4 separate regions of the Homo sapiens genome follow, and all the other regions are linked to region 3. Evidence: promoter capture Hi-C in human tissues and cell types (Jung and others, 2019). All regions are on one chromosome and are shown on one strand. Each heading gives the region's core, a stretch centred on a gene start or on the middle of the fragment in contact. The rest is flanking DNA. Distances are from core to core; before and after follow the strand shown.

Evidence for each region. Contacts are between HindIII fragments. The study calls those that stand out against the background at their distance.
Region 1: a fragment that was not itself captured here is called in contact with the fragment with the promoter of SEPHS1 in region 3 in 1 of the 25 tissues and cell types used here (thymus).
Region 2: a fragment that was not itself captured here is called in contact with the fragment with the promoter of SEPHS1 in region 3 in 1 of the 25 tissues and cell types used here (lymphoblastoid cells).
Region 4: a fragment that was not itself captured here is called in contact with the fragment with the promoter of SEPHS1 in region 3 in 2 of the 25 tissues and cell types used here (IMR-90 fibroblasts and lymphoblastoid cells).

Annotation. Positions count from the first base shown.
Region 1 is chr10:13,751,903-13,754,602 of GRCh38, forward strand. All of the region lies in intron 8 of FRMD4A (FERM domain containing 4A), which reads right to left. Among named protein-coding and RNA genes, the nearest start is that of PRPF18, 170 kb to the left of the region's middle. The HindIII fragment of the contact is 4,931 bases long and covers 1-2,700 here.
Region 2 is chr10:13,698,004-13,700,703 of GRCh38, forward strand. All of the region lies in intron 14 of FRMD4A (FERM domain containing 4A), which reads right to left. Among named protein-coding and RNA genes, the nearest start is that of PRPF18, 110 kb to the left of the region's middle. The HindIII fragment of the contact is 4,029 bases long and covers 1-2,700 here.
Region 3 is chr10:13,346,917-13,349,616 of GRCh38, forward strand. It overlaps SEPHS1 (selenophosphate synthetase 1), which reads right to left and starts at 1,377. Exons shown (of 9, transcript NM_012247.5): 1 at 1,084-1,377. RefSeq lists silencers at 313-1,142, 1,273-1,492 and enhancers at 1,562-2,352, 2,353-2,700. The HindIII fragment of the contact is 27,088 bases long and covers 1-2,700 here.
Region 4 is chr10:13,605,557-13,608,337 of GRCh38, forward strand. PRPF18 (pre-mRNA processing factor 18) reads left to right here. Exons shown (of 10, transcript NM_003675.4): 4 at 75-188. Among named protein-coding and RNA genes, the nearest start is that of PRPF18, 20 kb to the left of the region's middle. The HindIII fragment of the contact is 3,146 bases long and covers 1-2,781 here.

The sequences.
Region 1 (2,700 bases), core at 78-2,577, 400 kb after region 3:
CTATCTGGGAGGCTAAAGTGGGAGGATTGCTTGAGCCCAGGAGTTTGACATTAGAGTGAGCTATGACCATGCCACTGTTCTCCAGCCTGGGCAACAGAGGGAGACCCTGTCTCAAAAACCAAAAGAATAGAAAAGAAAAAGAAAAATGCAAAAAGTTCTCTTGAAAAGCCAGTTGCTAAACTGAGAATAACATCCAAGTCTTCTTATCTTTAATATGAATCAGTTTTTATTAAAAACTCTCCGGCAGTTATTAACGTTGCCAGGATAAAAGTGGTATCAATGCTGTATTGGTCTTCGATTTAGTGGTGTTTTTTTCTTTGAGATGATGTGCCTGTCTTCTGCAGCCTATACTCCTCACGAAACAAGGAAAGTTAGAATGATCTACTGGGGAAAAACAAAGATTTCTAGCAATATATCAAATAGAGAATTTGCCACAGTGAACAGCAGATTTAACCAAGATGCCACAAAGTGAAGGGAGCAAAAATTAAACCTGAGAGGGAAGGATGAGGAAAATCCACAATGTGTTTGCTTTTCTTTAAAAAACCTGGAAATAACTTTTTCAAGAAAGTCCCCCTGGGTCAAATGAGATGTATGTAATTTGTGGGAGAAACTTGGGACGAACAGAATAGGCTTAGCGTGAAAGAATTCTTGCTAAAACCAGTCGTTTCTGTCTGCACTGGTACAAAAACAGCAGAGCACAAAACCCAGAATGTGATACTATCGTAACAGAAAGGAACAGCCTGCAATTCAGAAACAGTAATATAATGCTAGCATTGGCCTCACTCCTCCATATTTTATGAGCAGAATCATGAAGGTCAAGTTCTCAGGGGCGGGATATTTCATAAGTAGAGTGTTGCAGGTCCTTCATCCATTATCACAATTCCAAAATTCAAAAAGCTAGAGTCTAAGAAACATTTCTTAACCCATCTGGCGGCAAACTTCATCTTTTTGCATGAGGCAATGATGGACCTTTCTATTTGCGCCCACTTGCTGCGCATATCCATGTTTTGGGCTGGAGGTGTTGATGTGTTTAATTCCAGGTGCTGCCCTAGGCCCTGCCCAGGGTGTCGTACAAGCCCTGAATTACCTGCCTAAATCCTGCCAAGTTCTGAATTCGTAAACATTGAGACCCTAAAGTTCTAGATATACATACGTGGCTCTCTGTTCCTTTGTTCGATCATACAGTGGACCTAGAAAACTGAGACAGATTAATGAGGGAAGTTATAGATTTTCATTCTTTGCTGATCTTTAAGAAATCATGCAGGAAACAATCTTTAATTTCCCTTTCCTTTCTTCCTCCTCCTTTTTTTGGTAAACCAAGGTGAAGCTGAGGTTACAACAAAGAAAAGAGAGCACCTGCCTATCTCCGCCCAATCACATGCTTTTTTCCCCAGGTGTGTAGGAAAGAAATGTTGCAGGGGTCTTCCACCATTGGGTTGGGTCCCATCTGTCTGAGAAACTTTTCCTGCCATAGTGTGTGACCATTCACAGACAAAGGGAATCACTTGGAGGCCCCAGGAGGTTTTTCCAGCATGGGATTCTGAATTCTGGGCATGAATCATAGATAAATCACATGAATTTACCAACTGTTTGTTGGGGGCAACATTGCAAACACATTGATGAAATATGTACCTTTCTATTTTTTTTTTTTTTTTTTTTTGAGACAGGGTCTCGCTTTGTTGCCCAGGCTAGAGCGCAGTTTTGAGATCATGGCTCACTGCAGCCTCCACCTCCCAGGCTCAAGTGAACCACCTGCCTTAGCCTCCAAGCAGCTGGGACTACAGGTGCTTATCACTGCACCTGGTTAATTTTTTAAATATTTTGTAGAGATGAGGTCTCACTATGTTGCCTAGGCTCATCTTGAACTCCTGGGCTCAAGCAATCCTCCTGCCTTGGCCTCCCAAAGTGCTGGGATTATAGGCGTGAGCCACAGTGTCTGGCAGTGCCTTTATTTCTGTTGCTAATTGTTAAGTTATATAAGTAAGGATTTCTTCCTTGATTACCGAGTCTCGTTTTCTGGGGTGAAATGAAGTTTTATGAATTTCTAATTTATGTTAGGTATAAACATGTAAAATTTAAGACAAATTTAAAAATTGTTTCATAAGTCTACAATTTCAGGCAAATAATTTTCTCAAAAAGCCCAAGAAGAAACGATTAACTTTCTATATTTCTCAGTATCACCCTTTAGTTTCAGAATTTCCACTCTGAAAAACTGACACAGTACCATAGCCATGAAACGTTTTGCTGTTCACAGGTATAACTGAAAATATGATATTTTAATATGTTAAATAAATGCCTAACAAAAGAAGTAAGCTGTCATAATACAAAATTTCCTCCTTACTTGGCTTCTAAGCAATTCGCATAGAATTTGAAGAATATCATCCTGCAAAAAAAAAACTACCCTATCCCTATCCAAATACTTTTTTATGCTTTGAAAATGTGAATTACACACTTGAAAGCTCCATCAAATAGACTTTAGTGCACAAAACAAAGCTTTCTGTAACAATTTATAACTTTTCCACTTGAACATTTTGCTTCAAATTTTCACAGATTCTGTTCCTTTCAAAAGCTCTTGCTGGTGTGAAAGATTCCATCTGCTCTTCAATTACTCATGGCCCTTAAAGTCATTTTTAAATCATGGGAAAACGCCACACACAATTCTTTCGTGTGTGTGTGTGTGTGTGTGTGTGTGTGTGTGTA
Region 2 (2,700 bases), core at 160-2,659, 350 kb after region 3:
CAAATAACCAACCAGCACAGCCTCCCTCCGCCCTGTCTTAGATCGTAGAATGGTTTCTTGATGTATATGCATGGAGAGCTGATGGAGGGAGGGAGGGAGAGACAGGCAGAGAGAAAGAAGGAGAGATTTCCTTAAATGATTTGCACAGTGACCCTGAAAGAAGAAAAAACCCGAGTGTCAGGGGAGCACCTGAACCCTCATGGCTCCCTACCCTTGCTGACTCGAACCACTAGACCTCACTTGTCTCTCTAGGGTTGATAAACATCATTTGGGAGGCCTGGGCTTTGCTGAAGCTCTTCAGAGAAAGGAATGGTTGGCATGTCCCAGTACAGTAGAGTGTGAGCAGTGGCCAGGATACCAGCCAGAACTGGCTGCCTAGAAATGTTATGAAGCTCTCTGTCCCAGCCCTGTCGGCCATCACTCACCCAGAGGCCGTGCTGCCCATCAGAGATCAATCACATCGCTGTTCTATAAAGAACATTCCAGAAACAGAAAGGTGTTGTAATGTAATTCCCAAAGGGTACGTCATCATCTCTGATTTAATTTGCGGGCCTTTTAGAGAATTTAAACTTCATGCAAGTGTTGGCCAGTGATAGTATGCTAGATTAACTATGACATTAGTAAAAGATGGCACGTATTTCCTCAAGCAATTTCACAAACGTGGTGCCATCTGACCAATCACTAATTGAGGTCAGGAATTTCCTTTGCTGCTAATTGGGGAAAGCAAAACACCAAGGATGAAAGACCCACCCGGGGTCCCAGAGCTGGAAAACAGAGGCCTCCAATTCCCACATAGAGGGTTGTGATCCTCACCTGTCACTGCAGGCTGGGGAACTGGTTCCTGTGAGAAGTGTGAGGGCTCTAGGACATCTGTGAGCATGCCAGGCTTCCTGGGAAATGTTCTCCTTCTCCTTCTGGGAGCGTGGGCATTTTCTTCAGTCCCCAAGGGTTACTTTTACAAAAGGGACAGCTGAAACATTCCTAATGCTATGGGGCATTTGGTTTTACCTCCTAAAAGACACGTCTTGTTGCTAATTTATCTACAATAATCTTTTTTTTTTTTTTTTTCTGAGATGGAGTCTCACTCTGTCAACCACGCTGGAGTGCAGTGGTGTGATCTCAGCTCACTGCAACCTCTGCCTCCTGGGTTCAAGCAATTCTCCTCCCTCAGCCTCCCTAGTAGCTGAGATTACAGATGCCTGCCACGATGCTTGGTTATTGTTTTTTTTTTTTTTTTTTTTTTTTGTATTTTTAGTAAAGACTGGGTTTCCCCATGTTTGCCAGGCTGGTCTCGAACTCCTGACCTCAAGTGATCTGCTCTCCTCGGCTTCCCAAAGTACTGAGATTACAGGCGTGAGCCATGGCGGCCGGCCAATAATTTCCTTTTGAGATATACTTGCTGTGTCAGTGAGTTGACCTGTTAGCCTGTTCAACAACAAGGCTTGCCAACTGCAGAATGAGCCCATCTTCCCGGGTGCAGCAGGAAAGCCATAAGAACAAGTTTCTTGAAATGCTCAAGAGACCGCCTATGCAAAAACCGGCGCAGAGAGGAGGAGCTTGAACAGCCAATGCTGTGCTATCCTCAGGGCGAGATACACCTTTTCCTCTGTCCACACTGTGGTACAGTGCGTGGGGGGTCTGCCGTCAAGGGGAACTGGCAGTGGGGTTCAGGAGCATTGCCCAATCCCCTAACCCCCACCATCCATCACCCAACCACAGAGGGTGAAATTAACGTTCTCAGGTGTCGACCTCCAACTGTTGCCCCTGGACAGCAAAACCCTGACACCCACCCACTGTGTCAATATCGAGCATGAGTCAAAAACACTTTGGCCCCATTTCTTTTGATCTAATCGAGCTTCAAATTCCTGCGCTAGGACTAGGACCCATCACTGCCAGGAGAGCTGCGGAGAATACTGTCATTATTCCTAACAACAGAAATTCTCTGTCCTGCGCTCATTCATCCCAGAAAATGACCAAAAAGGGGGTCAGAAAGTAGAGGACAAGATATTTTACAAAGGATAAAATGACGGCTGCGGGGGACAGACCCCAATTTAAAACTGAATTATGACTAAAGGGATTGTTTCATTTCGTCCTGTCCTCTTTTCTTCTTTTTTTTTTCTTTTAGTAGAGATGGGGGTCTCACTATGTTGCCCAGGCTGGTCTGGAATTCCTGAGCTCAAGTGATCCTCCTGCCTTGGCCTCCCGAAGCGCTGAGACTACAGATGTGAGCCACTGTGCCCAGCCCTGTCCTCTTTTCTTTCTCTTATCACCTCCCCCTTGACCCCCAATTCGCTCACTCTCCTCTTCCCCAGAAAAAGAGAAACCCCTTAAAATATGGATAAGATGGCAAAAGAGAAAGAACCCTAGAGGGCACCGATTCAGTGACTCTTGTGCCCAGTAAGTTGAGCATCTTGCCACCTTCTCCCAAGAACTCACGCGATGGAGGGAAATCCTCCGTAAGTGCTAGAAACCACTAGCCCAGGGGCCCAGGGTGACCTCAGTCTGTATTCCCCCAGCCCAAGCCAGCAGGATCTTGAGAGAAGCTGCAGGGCCATCTTGGCAGGGCTCTTCCCCTGAGGGAGAATGAATGGGAGTGGCTTGTGGGGGGCTGACAGGGGAGTCTGGGGAGACAGGGCTGGAGGAAGAGGGGGCAGAGTGTTGATATAAGCCCTGTGTGAACCAAGGAGACGTCATCCTCTC
Region 3 (2,700 bases), core at 127-2,626:
TTTAAAATTCCAAATGGTACTAAGGACACAAATCAGCCTCACATCCTAATGAAAAAAGTACTAGATTCTTACATTTTTGGAGGGCATGGGAAGGGGGAGGGGGTTCTGGGGGAAATGTGCAGTGATTAGGGAACCAGGGGGATCCATTTGCATTAATAAGGGACGGTGCCCGGCGACCCCGCAGCCACATGTTTACGCCTTTAAAACAATGGCATGAATATTTAAAGCAACGTTTAGCCCTTTCCTTCCCGGGCACATTTCCATGGTTTGGTTTTTTTTTTTCTTCCAACGAGCGTGGGGAGCCGGGGAGCCGGTCAGCGGGGTGGGCCCGGCGCGCTGCCCCGCCAACCCCGGACCTACCTCCCCGCCGGCCCCGCACAATGGGGCGCGCTCTCCAGGACGCCCGCGTCGGAGGCGGCCGGGGAGGGGAGCAAGGAACCCGGGGACACCTTCGGGCTCAGGCTCAGGCTCAGGCCCTCGCCGCCGCCTCGGAAGGCCCAGCAGGCCCGGGCTGCGGGCCGGCGGCGGGGCGGAGGCGGCAGCTCGGGGCCCCGGCCGGGCCATCCCTGTTCGGGCCGGCGGGAGGCGGCGGGAGCCGGCGGGCACCGCGCGTGCGGCCCAGGAGCCGGGGAGGACGCCGGGACGCACCCGCCCCGGGTCGACAGGGCCCGCGCGGAGAAAAGGGGAGGCGGGGAGGCCCCGGAGGCACCCCGCGACCCCAGGCCGGCCGCTCCCGCCGCGCGCACGGGCCGCCGCCGCCGCCGCGCAAAAATGTCGGCGGGCGAAAAAATTAACCCCTGCGTGGCCGCCGCCGCCCTCCCCTCCGCTCCTCCCCGCCCTCCCTCCCTCCTTCCCCGGCCCCGCGCGGCGGCGGCGGCGGCGCGGGCGGCGCTTCTTTTTTAAAGCGGCCCCACCAAGCCCGGCGCTGCCCCTCTCCAGGCAGGGCTGGCGGGGCCGGCGGCGCGCGGCTCCCCGGCGGTCCCGGGCGGCCCGGAGGGGGATTTGCAACGGCCGCCGCGGGCCTGCGGACCCAGATTCCCCTTTAAGCCTGCGCCTCCCCCCCGCGCCGGGCCCGCCGCTTACCGGCTCGCTTTGCGCCCTCCGCCTCCTCCCGAAAACGGGCCGCGGGCCGCTCCCACAATGCACCGGGCGCGGCCGGGCTCCCTTAAGCGTCGCCTGAATAAAAATGCCGCGCCCGGCGGCGGCGGCGGCGGCGGGGGCCCGGGCCCGCGCCTGGGCGCCGCGGGGGCTCGCCTGCCTCGGCGCGGCCCTGCGGGAGCCGGGCCGCCGCGCTCCCGCCGGCTGGGCGCGCGGGGGTCCTTTAAGGCCGGCCACCTCCCTTTAAGAGGCGGCCCTGGCTGCTGGGTGGCGGCGTGCGGCCCGGGAAGGGGGCGGGGGCGCCGTGCAGCCCCGAGCGCGGCAATGATTGGTCTCGGGGGAGGGGTGGGGGGTTGCAAACCCGAGGAGCGGTGGCATCCGTTGCATGATGCAAAAAAGGATTGATTTCAAAAGTTGCGAGTTGCATTGGCAGCCGCCCTTGGCGCCCGGGCCACCTTTTTCCCGGGCCCCGCTGCAAGGGCCGGGAACGTTTCCGCCACCTGGCCGGGCTCGACCGCGCGGCGCTCTGCGGGGCGCTGTCCCCGCTCCCCGAGTGCGCAGCGGAGCGTCCTGGAAGACAATGACCATGGGAACAATTTGCACAGGAGGCTAGGAGCCCAGGAAAAGCCGCCTGGGCGCCAGGCAGAGGTTTTTTGAAAACACAAACGGCGCGTTAGATGCTTGGGGACTCCCAGCATCTGTCCTTCCTATTGTTTAGCTCGGCTCCGGAGTTCACGGGAGCCTCGTGAAATGTGGAGACGTCCTGCAAAGTTTCTTGAACACTTCATGTGCGTGGTAGGAAGTCGAGGAAAAAGGTTTACGGTTCCCCGCTGGTTGCATTGTTTGTCCTGCACATGTTCGAGCGAACATGGCAGCCGCAACCCTGGATGTGTTCGAATTGACATCGAGGGGGGAGCTTCACGTCGTGAAATAACTTTTTTCTGGGCTTTCGAGATTCTAAAGCATTGCTGATGAAAATAAACCAAATACTTTCAGATATCGTTTAGGGCTTCTCTCTAAAACAGCAGTGTGCAGGAATGCCGATCGAACTTTTCTAGGCAGTAGGTCAGCATTTTCCAAATGTTATTTGGGAGCAGAAATGTTTTGGGTCACTGGACCGTGCTTTACGTGGCACGGCAGGTTGGCACGCTACGCAGATGCCCTTTTCGTTAACATTTCCGCTTGCCAGTTGCTCCGGGTTTTAATCCTGGGCTGGATGCAGAAGTGATGCCACCTCGAAGACAGGCTGCTCCTGTCTTTGTGTACTTTCTTCATACCCTGTAGTAAGTTTGCAAAGAACGTGTTAGTCTGCATTCTTTTATTTTATATTTATTTATTTATTTATTTTGAGACGGAGTCCCACTCTGTCGCCAGGCTGGAGTGCAGTGGCGCGATCTCGGCTCACTGCAACCTCCGCCTCCTGGGTTCAGGTGATTCTCCTGCCTCAGCCTCCCCAGTAGCTGGGATTACAGGCGCCTGCCACTGGAGGATGGCTTCTCCCAGAGGGGAAGACAGGGTCACGGTTCTCATTAAGAGGGTATTGTACTAGTCAAGCCCGGAGATGTACTTGAACTGAAAGCAAGGGGAATGCAGCCCAGGGAA
Region 4 (2,781 bases), core at 207-2,706, 260 kb after region 3:
GGGCAACAGAGTGAGACTGTCTCAAAAAAAAAAAAAAAAAAAAAAATTTACTGGGTATCTGTTTCACTTTGTAGGTCATCAGAAGATTGAGAGAAAGAGGAGAACCAATCAGACTATTTGGAGAGACTGATTATGATGCTTTTCAACGTTTAAGGAAAATAGAGATCCTCACACCAGAAGTTAACAAGGTAAGAGGACAGAACAAAGCTAGAAAAATACCACTGTACTGCATTCACTAGAATAGAGTTTGACTAATTGCATTATTGTAGGCAACAATGGAAAAGTAAAGTGAGCAGATTATTGCTGCTGAATGGAAGTTTTCATTAATTTTTTGAAAAGCTCATATCTTAAGTATAACATTTAATGCATTTTGACAAATACATACAAGCATATAACCATTGCCCTTATAAAGAAATAGAACATTTTCGTCACCAAAGAAATTTCCCTGAGAGCATCAGGAAGAATAGCGAATGGATGCTGGGCTCAATAGCTGGGTGATGGGATGATCTGTGAAGTAAACCACCACGACACACGTTTCCCTATGTAACAAACCTGTCATCCTGCAGCTGTATCCCTGAACTTAAAAGTTGAAAAAAAAGAGAAAAAGGAAATTTCCCCAGTACCCCTTCTCAGCCTATCCTCATATTTCTCCTCATCCCTTCCTGGGCAGCCACCATTTGAATTTTGTCATCATGGATTAATTTTGCTTGTTCTTGTATTTCATACAGATGGACTCATAGATTGTGTGTCTGGCTTCTTTCGCTCAGCATATCAGTTTTTAGGTTCATCCATGTTATTGCAGATACCACTGGTTTCCTTTTCATTTTCCAGTGATACTCAGTTGTATGAATATATCAAAATTTGTTTCCAGCTTTGGGCTATTAGGAATAAAACTGCTGGCTGGGCGTGGTGGCACAAGCCTGTAATCCCAGCACTTTGGGAGGCTGAGGCAGGTGGATCACAAGGTGAAGAGATCGAGACCATCCTGGCCAACATGGTGAAACCCCGTCTCTACTAAAAATACAAAAATTAGCTGGGCGTAGTGGCGTGTGCCTGTATTCCCAGCTACTTGGGAGGCTGAGGCAAGAGAATCACTTGAATCCGGGAGGTGGAGGTTGCAGTGAGCTGAGATTGTGCCACTGCACTCCAGCCTGGCGACAGAGTGAGACTCCTTCTCAAAAAAAAAAAAAAAAAAAAAAAAACAGGGATAAAACTGCTATGACCATTCTTATGCAGATCTTTTTTTGGAACTATGTTATTTTTCTTGGGTAAATAAATAGGTCTCTTGGGGAGATACCTAGAAGTAGAATTGCTGGATAATAAGAGTAGATGTATGCTTAACTTCATAAGAAATGCCAGTCATTTCCAAACCCCAGCATGTGGTATTGTTAGTCTTTTTAATTTTAACCATTCTCTTTTGTGTCTGGTAGTAGCTCTTTGCGGCTTTAATCACATTACCTGATGACTAAAGATGAGGAGCATCTTTTCATAAAGTTGTGTTCATTTGTGTAGTGTCTGTTAAAGTCTTTCTTTCCTTATTTATTTATTTTTTTGACACAGAGTCTCACTCCGTCACCTACGCTGGAATGCGGTGGCATAATCATGGCTCATGGCAGCTGCAACCTCCTGGGCTTAAGCAGTCCTCCCACCTCAGCCTCTCAAGTAGCTGGGATTACAGGCGCTTTTTGTTCATTTTAAAAATAAACTTGTCTTTTTGTAAATGGATTATAGGAATTCTTTGTATATTCTGGATAGAAGTTCTTTGTCAGATATACGAATATTTTTTGTGACTATTTTCTTGTAGTTTAGGGCTTACCTGTTCTCTTAATTGAATCTTTTGCTGAACAGAAGTTTGTGTGTGTGTACACACACGCTTTTTGAGACAGGGTCTCACTCTCACCCAGGCTGGAGTTCAGCATGATCATGGCTAACTGCAACCTCTAGCTCCTGGGCTTAAGCGATCTCCCACCTCAGCCTTCCAAGTAGCTGAGACCACAGGTGTGTGCCACCATGCCTGGCTGATTTTTTAATTTTTGTAGAGATGAGGCCTCCTCATGTTGCCCAGGCTGATCTTGAACTCCTCTACTCAAGGGATCCTCCCGCCTTGGCCTCCCGAAGTGCCCGGGCCAGAAGTTTTATATTTTAATGAAGTCCAATTTATTGTTTTTTCCTTTTATGGTCATTGCTTTTTGTGTCCTGCTTAAGAAATCTTTGCCTATCCCAAGATTTCAAATATATATTCTTAATTTTCTTCTAGAAGCTTAATATTATAGTTTTTGCTTTACATTTAAGGCTCTGATCTTGTTTTATGGCTTAGCATATGGTTTATTCCATGGGCTCTTGAAAAGAGTATTGTTTTGCTTTCATGGTACAGTTCTACAAATGTCAGTGATGATAGTGTTGTTCAGATCTTCTTTGGCCTTGCTAACTTTTTATCTACTTGCTTTCTCAATTATTGAGAGACAGGTGTGGTTACCTATGACTATGTAACAGACTACTCCAAAACTTACTAGTGTTTGTTTATTTATTATAAAGGATTTATCATTACCAAATCTGTTTTTGGTGATTAACAAGCCACCCTGAAACTTGATAGCTTAAGATAATTTGTTATTGTCTTAATAATTACCAGTTCTGTGGTTTTATTGGGCTGGATTGAGCAGTATCTTGCTTGGGGTCTTTATTGTGATTGCAGTCAGATGAAGGCTGCGGCCGAAATCATGTGAGGCTGCCTCTGGACTGGTCTTCTAAGCTGATATCTTGCCCCTTTCCTGGCGTCTCAGT